Linked DNA regions of Homo sapiens: region 1 is linked to region 2. The links are contacts of gene promoters, found by promoter capture Hi-C in human tissues and cell types (Jung and others, 2019). All regions are on one chromosome and are shown on one strand. Each heading gives the region's core, a stretch centred on a gene start or on the middle of the fragment in contact. The rest is flanking DNA. Distances are from core to core; before and after follow the strand shown. Region 1 has its middle 25 kb from the start of IGFL3. Region 2 holds the start of IGFL2 (IGF like family member 2).

The links. The method cuts DNA at HindIII sites, captures the fragments that hold promoters and counts their contacts. A contact is called where the count stands out against the background at its distance.
Region 1: a contact is called between a fragment that was not itself captured here and the fragment with the promoter of IGFL2 in region 2, in 4 of the 25 tissues and cell types used here (H1 embryonic stem cells, dorsolateral prefrontal cortex, mesenchymal stem cells and 1 more).

Annotation. Positions count from the first base shown.
Region 1 is chr19:46,097,501-46,101,653 of GRCh38, reverse strand. It overlaps a transcript of IGFL2 not described here. Among named protein-coding and RNA genes, the nearest start is that of IGFL3, 25 kb to the left of the region's middle. The HindIII fragment of the contact is 4,115 bases long and covers 1-3,667 here.
Region 2 is chr19:46,146,800-46,151,062 of GRCh38, reverse strand. It overlaps IGFL2 (IGF like family member 2), which reads right to left and starts at 2,825. Exons shown (of 4, transcript NM_001135113.2): 1 at 2,766-2,825. The coding sequence starts at 2,784. The HindIII fragment of the contact is 7,392 bases long and covers 1,074-4,263 here.

The DNA.
Region 1 (4,153 bases), core at 361-2,860, 48 kb after region 2:
GGCTGCCTAAAAGGCTGAACCCCCACTGGGGAAGGGCAACAGCCATCACTACAGCTCGGGGCTGCCGTTTTTCCCCTGCTGGTGCCAGGGAGATTGGATGTCTTGGACCCAGAAGGTATTCCCCACAGTGGAGCACACCAGTTGTGGCAGATTGTGGACTCTGCCTCTTTAGGCTGGACCCTGACCCATCCCTCCTCACTGGGCGAGGCCTCCCTGCAGGAACTTCAGCTACCCCAGCCAGGGCCTTAGGGAAAAGATTCTGATCTCCCTGAGCCTGAGCCCCTAGTGGGAGGGGTGGCCATGGCCTTCACAAACCAGCAGACTTACTTTCCTCCACTAGCTCTGAGGAATCCAGGCAGCCCAGATGAGTGGGTTTCCCCCCAGCACAGCACATCCCCTCCACCAAGGGACAACTAGAGTGTTTCATTAAGTGGGTCCCGGATCCTGTGCCCCGCGACTGGGTGAGACCCCCACCAACCAGGGGTCACCAGACACCTTATACAGAAGCGTTCCTACCAGCATCAGGTCAGTGCCCCTCGAGGACAGAGATCCCAGAGGAAGGAGCAGGCATCCATCTTTGCTGTTCTCCAGCTTCCTCGGGTGACATCTCCAGCTGCAGAAGGGACCCAGGTGAATAGGGCCTGAAGTGAACCCTCAGCAAACTGCAGCAGTCCTACAGAAGAGGGGCCTGACTGTTAAAGAAAAACAAACTAACAGAAAGCAACAACAGCATCAACAAAGAAGTCACCACAAAAACTTCATCCAAAGGTCAGCAGCCTCAAACTAGACAAACTTATGAAGATGAGAAAGAATGAATGAAAAAAAACACTGAAAGGAAATTAAATTTTGGGACCCCAAATGCATCTGGCTAAAAGGAAGAGTCAAGCTGGGAACTGGGTCATGCAAACTTGCCTCCCACTTTCAGTTCCTAAATAAGATGGCTACAAGATGAAAAGCTACATGCCTCCCCCATATTTGCCCACAAGGATATTCCTAGTGAATGGTTAAAACTTCACCATGGCAATGCAAATTGATAGCTTATCTTTCCAGGTGCTGTCATCCTGGCCCACAGACACTAATGCATATCTGATTGTTTCCCTACCACATTCTGTTTGTGTTATCTTATGTAAAATGCTGATTCCCCACATTTTTCCTCTGCCCCTTTTATGTCCTTGTATGTAAAAATGCAGATTCACTTGCATGAAAACTGTATACTTCTCAATATCCCACCCTTTCCCCTTTAAATTTGGAGCCCTTAAAATCATCTTCAGAGAAAGGCATAGACCTGTTTCCCGGGTGCATCCTTAACTTTGGCAAATAAATCTCCTAAAATGATTGAGACTTTTCTTGTCATTTTCCTTGATTAACAGTCAGCAGCCTCAAAGATTGAAACTAGACAAACTCATATAGATGAGAAAGAATCAATGAAAAAACGCTGAAAACTGAAAAGGCCAGAGTGCCTCTCCTCCTCCAAATGATCACAACTCCTCTCCAGCAAGGGTACAGAACTGGGTGGAGGCTGAGATGGATGAGTTGACAGAAGGCTTCAGAAAGTAGGTAATAAACTTTGCTAAGCTAAAGGAGCATGTTTAACCCAATGCAAAGAAGCCAAGAACCATGATAAAGGGTCATAGGAGCTGCTAACTAGAATAACCAGTTTAGAGAGGAACATAAATGACCCGATGGAGCTGAAGAACACAGCACAAGAACTTCGTGATGCGAACACAGGTATCAAGCAGAAGGATAAATATCAGAGCTTGAATACTATCTTGCTGAAATAAGGCAAGCAGACAAGACTGAGAAAAAAAGAATGAAAAGGAATGAACAAGCACAGGCTCGGTGACTCATCCCTGTAATCCCAGCACTTTGGAAGGCTGAGGCAGGTGGATCACGAGGTCAGGAGTTCAAGACCAGCCTGGATAAGATGGTGAAACCCCGTTTCTACTAAAAATACAAAAATTAGCCAGGCGCAGTGGCAGGCGCCTGTAATACCAGCTACTTGGGAGGCTAAGGCAGGAGATCACTTGAACTCGGGGGGCAGAGGTTGCAGTGAGCTGAGATTGTGCCACTGCACTCCAGCCTGGGTGACAGAGTGAGACTCCGTCTCAAAAAAAAAAAAAGAAAGAAAGAAAAAGAGCAAACAAAACCTCCGAGAACTATGAGACTATGTAAAAAGACCAAACCTATGACTGATAGGAGTACATGAAAGAGATGGGGAGAAAGGAACCAAGTTGAAAAACACACTTCAGGCTATCATCCAGAAGAACTTCCCCAACCCAGCAAGAGAGGCCAACATTCAAATTCAGGAAATCCAGAAAATCCCAGTAGGATACTCCATGAGAAGATCAACCCAAAGACACATAATCATCAGATTCTCCAAGAATGTAATGAAGGAAAAAATGTTAAAACAGCCAGAGAGAAAGGCCAGGTCACCTACAAAGGGAAGCCCATCAGACTAACAGTGGACCTCTCAGCAGAAACCCTACAAGCCAGAAGAGAGTGGAGGCCAATATTCATCATTCTTAAAGAAAATAATTTCCAACCCAGAATTTCATATTTGGCTAAACTAAGCTTCATAAGCAAAGGAGAAATAAAATCCTTTTCAGACAAGCAAATGCTGAGAGAATTCATCACCACCAGGCCTGCCTTGCAAGAGCTCCTGAAGGAAGCACTAAATATGGAAAGGAAAAACCACTATCAGCCACTGCAAAGACATGCTGAAGTACAAAGACCAACGACACTATGAAGAAACTGCATCAACTAGTCTGCAAAATAACCAGCTAGCATCATGATGACAGGATCAAACACACATAACAATATTAACCTTAAATGTAAATGGGCTAAATGCTCCAATTAAAAGACACAGATTGGGCCTGGCACAGTGGTTCATGCATGTTGTGTAATCCCAGTACTTTGGGAGGCCGAGGCGGGTGGATCACCTGAGGTCAGAAGTTCGAGACCAGCCTGACCAATATGGTGAAACCACATATCTACTAAAAATACAAAAATTAGCCAGGCATGGTGGCATGCACCTGTAGTCCCAGCTACTTGGGAGGCTGACGCAGGAGAATCACTTGAATCCAAGAGGCAGAAGTGCAGTGAGCTGAGATCATACCACTGCACTCCAGCCTGGGTGGCAGAACGAGACTCCATCTCAAAAAAAAAAAAAAAAAAAGACACAGATTGGCAATGTGGATAAAGAGTCAAGACCCATTGGTGTGCTGTATTCAAGATTCAAGAAGCCCATCTCCATGCAATGATACACATAGGCTCAAAATAAAGGGATGAAGGAAAATTTACCAAGCAAATGAAAAGCAGGAAAAAGCAGGGGTTGCAATCCTAGTTTCTGACAAAACAGACTTTAAACCAGCAAGGTTCAAAAAAGACAAAGAAGGGCATTACATAATCGTAAAGGGATCAATACAGCAAGAAAAGCTAACAATCCTAAATATATATGCACCCAATACAAGAGCACCCAAATTCATAAAACAAGCTCTTAGAGACCTACAAAGAGACTTAGACTCCCACACAATAATAGCGGGAGACTTTAACACCCACTGTCAATATCAGACTATCATTAAGACAGTAAATTAACAAGGGTATTCAGGACTTGAACTCAGCTCTGCATCAGGTGGACCTGATAGATATCTACAGAACTCTCTACCCCAAAACAACAGAATAAGCATTCTTCTCAGTGCCACATGGCACTTACTCAAAAACTGATCTCATAATTGGAAGTAAAACACTCTTTAGCAAATGCAAAGGAACTGAAATCACAACAGTCTCTCAGACCACAGTGCAATCAAATTAGAACTCAAGGTTTAAAAACTCACTCAAAACCACATAACTACATGAAAATTCAACAACCTTCTCCTGAATGACTCCTGGGTAAACAATGAAATTAAGACAGAAGTAAAGAAGTCCTCTAAAAACAATGAGAACAAGAGACAATGTACCAGAATCTCTGGGATGCAGCTAAAGCAGTATTAAGAGGGAAATTTATAGCACTAAATCCCTACATCAGAAAGCTAGAAAGCTCTCAAATCGACACCCTAATATTGCAACTAAAAGAACTAGAAAACCAAGAACAAATCCCAAAGCTAACAGAACACAAGAAATAACCAAGATCAGAATGGAACTGAAGGAGATAGAG
Region 2 (4,263 bases), core at 1,576-4,075:
ATAAGCAAATGATATGAAGTTACAGTTAGACAGGAAAGATAGGTTTTAGAGATCCACTGCAGGGCACGGTGACTATAATAAATAATAGTGTATTGTGGGCTGGACGTGATGGCTCATACCTGCAATCCCAGCACTTTGGGAGGCCAAGGAGGAGGGTTGCTTGAGCCTACAAGTTGGAGACCGGCCTGGGCAACACAGTGAGACATCGTCTCTATGAAAAACAAAATTAGCATGGTGTGGTGGTGCGTGCCTGTGGTCTCAGCTACTTGGGAGCTGAGGTGGAAGGATCACTTGAGCCTCAGAGGTAGAGGGTGCAGTGAGCTGTGATCACACCACTGCACTCCAGACTGGGCATCAGAGTGAGACCCTGCCTCTTAAAAAAACAAATGGTGTGTTGTATATTTCAAAATTGCTGAAGAGTATATTTTAAATGTTCTAGTGACAAAAAGTAATAAGTATATTAGGTGGTAGATATGGTAATTAATTTGATTTATCATTTAACAAGGCAAACATACATTAAATCATCATATTTTACCCCATAAATATACACAATTATTCTTTGTCAACTTCTTAAAAAGATTCCTAGCAGAAAACATACAAGTAAGTCTTAATGACCTCGAGTTAGGTAATATTTTCTTAGATATTACACCAAAAGCACAAGAGAGAAAAGAAAGAATAGACTTCATCAAAAATTAAAAACCTATGCACTGCAAGCAATAGCATCAAGGAAATGAACACAATCCACATAATGAGGAAAGTATTTGCAAATTATATATATGATAAGGGATGAGTATCCAGCATATCTTCTAAAACTCTTACAACTAAATAATAATAAAATAAATAACCCAATTTAAACATGGAAAAATCTGAATAAACCTTTTCTCAAAAAGGAATACAAATGGCCAATAAGCACATGGAAAAGACACTCAGCATTGTTATTTACCAAGGAAACGCAAATTAAAACTACACAGGATATCACACCCACCCACCCAGATGACTGTAATAAACAGGAAAATAGAAAATAACAAAGGTTGAAGAATCTGGAGAGAAATGTGAGCCCTCATACACTGCTGGTGGGAATGTAATTGATGCAGCTCTGTGGAAAACAGTTTGCCAATTCCTCAAAAAGTTAAACAGAATTACCATGTGGCGTAGCAATTCCACTCCTATGTGTACACCCAAGATAACTGAAAACAGGTTCTCAAGCAAATACATGTATACATATGTTTGTAACAGCACTATTCACAATAGCCAAATGGTGGAAACAGCCCAAGTGTCCATCAACAGATGAATGGATAAATGAATGCTGATACATGGATACAATTGAATTTATTCAGTTGTAAAAAGGAATGAAGTACTAATAAATTCTATAATGGGGATATGCCTTGAAAACATTAAGTTAAAAAAAAAGTTACACGAAAGGTCACTTATAAATGGTGTGATTCCATTTATATGAAATGTCCCAGATAGGTAAATCCATAGAGACAGAAAGCTGACTGGTGGTTGCCAAGGGTGAGGGTAGAGGGGAAAGAGAGGAACAGCTAAATGGGCATGCGGTGGTCGGGGGCTATGGAGCCAGGTGACTCGGAGGTAAAAAGCAATTCTGGAAGATGACTGAGCTACTCTTCCTTCAACTTGAGAGAGGAAGGAAGAGAAGGAAGGAGAGGAGGGAAAAGACAGGGAGGGGAGAGGGGAAGAGAAGAGAGGGGGATGTGAGACAGAGGGACACAGGGAGATGGGGAGGGGAGGGGGAGGGGGAGAGGGGAAGAGGGGGAGAGGTGGAAAGGGTGAGGGGTGAGTGGGAAAGAGAAAGAGAGAGAGAGAGAAAAGGGAGAGAGAGAAAAGAGAGGGAGAGAGAAAGAGAGGGAGAGAGAAAGAGAGAGAGAAGAGAGAGAGAGAGAAGAGAGAGAGGGAGAGAGAGAGATGGTTGCCCAAAAAGAAGTTAGTGAACACAGCAGGCATTGCTCATCTTGATGGAATACACACAACAAAACTCAGTCCACTGCCTGGGCTGCCCTTACTTACCCAGCACACTCCTGGGGTAGTCGGTCCTCATGCCTGAGACACTGAACCTCATGATTTCCTGGCGCTGAGAGCCCAGGAACTCCAGGCAATAGTGCCTGGGCTACAGGGCTGGGTCTGGTTCGAGGGCAGGATGATCCCCTCATCACAGTCCCAACAGATTGCAGATCTAGTCTCCACTCCTGAGTGTCAACTGGCACAACCACAGTCCAATATCTGGAAGAGTCAGAGCTGATGAGCTGGCAGGGGACCTCTGGGAGCCCCCAACCCTATCCACAGTGCTATAATCCTCCCTCCTTTCTTCTCCCTCCACTCACCACACCCATTCTCACCTATGGTCCCTTCTGAGTCTGAGCCCAGGAGTTCAAAAATAAAGATCAGCTGAGAGAAGAATGACAGTGATTCTGGGGTCACCAGATCATGATCATGGGGCACAAGATGATGTCTCTGAGTTTCTTTGGTTGCTGTAACAGCTCAGAGCAGATTTTGGGACTGACTCTGTGTGCAGGTTCTGGGCATTGGGCTTGGCAGGTGAGGAAATGCAGGGAGGGCTCTGGAAAGGGTTAAGCTTCTGGAATTTGCAGGTGGGGAAGAGAGATTGCAATGCAGTCAGAGAGGACACGGGTGATTATGAGGTGGGAAACCAAGAATTAAATAGGGAAGAGAGAATTAAGTTTGAGGTTCAGAGGTACATTAGGGATAACAGTAGGCATTAGCTCAACCTGGGGCAAGGGTTACCTTACCGAAGATTCTGGGCACCATGGAGCTTCAGAGCAGCTGATGGGACAGCAGCAGTGCAAATGGGTCAGTGACTTTATACAGGGACTTATGTAGGCTATGAACTTATCCACATTTAGGGAGGTGCCCAGAAGCACTGGCCTCTTGGAAAGGGTGGGGCATGAGAAGCCACAGAAAGCATAAGAAAAAACTGCATCAACAGCTTAGTAAGATGTTCCTGGACCTGTTCCAAGTGACTGCTACCTTCTCAGACCTCTCGAAATCTCAGAGTAAAGGCTTCCCTAGAACCTTTCAAAGCCGTGAGTGAGTGTCATTCTTTGAACTCTGCCCACGGCAAAGAGACTTGAAAGAGATTCCTTGGCTCTCACTTATCTGAGAGCATACTACTCACCAAACATCACAGCTGGTGATGAAACTTCATATTCATCCACCCTGAAGTTTCAAGGGGTCCCTCTACTCCCCATCTCAGTCCGGCTCCAGACCTGCACTATGAGAAACAAACGCACCCGTCCAAACCCAAAGAATGGACTCAGAGACACAGAAAACAGTGGAAGCAAGACTTTTAATGATGGTCTTGCAAGATTGAATGTCTGGTAGGCAGGCACACCCAGTACGGTTACAACAAGCTATTTATCCCCTAGTGCACAAGTCTCTCCCCTGGTTCCTCGTAGGCTAAGTACGATGGGGTCACGATCTTCCCAGACGTCGCCTATTGGTTGCTGGGTTGAGGCTTTTAGGTGTTTTCTTTAGGATTGTCTCACTGCATTTTGTTGCAGCCTATAATACATTGCAATCAAAGCCAGCTCGAGGGCTTTTCAAGTATTTGACTTATGACCTAGGCAGTCAGGCAAGCTGATAAGAATAGATAAAGTGAGCTATTTTGCTGGCTAGTAAACTTTCATTCTAGACTAAACTCTGGTTTGGGAGAGGGTAACTAAGGGGACCCCGACAAGCATGCACCAGCTATGGGCCTAGTATATTCTGTCCTTCCATAGTTTGTGGGCCTCAGCCTATCTGAGGTACTTTGTCTTGGAAATGGACCACCATATCCATTATTATAATTGTAGACAGCACTGTCTATAATTCTTCAGAGTCATTTAGGGGAAACTGTGAAGATGCAGCATAATCTAGAAAAAGAGCAGGGGCTGTAAAAACCCTGCCAGGGAGAACAGAAAAGGAACAGACAGTGATAAAATAGACATCTGGGATTCATAGAATAGATGGAAAGGCAGCCCCTTTTTGTTGTTGTTTCTGGAGTGCTTTGTCCAAGGAAACGCTCCTTCTGTGTTTCTTACTGTTATTTTATTGTCACCATCACTATTATTTGTGTCACTGGATACCATGTGGGCTATTATTAGAATGCGCTCCTGTGTTTTCCATTGACTTCCTTCCCATCCCACAGTGAGATAGGTGGGAGGGTGAGACAGAGATCAGGAGAGGTGTTAGGGCTTTATAAAAGTGCATTGTTAGTAGAAGAGTTCTGGACCTGATAAGTGAATTTAG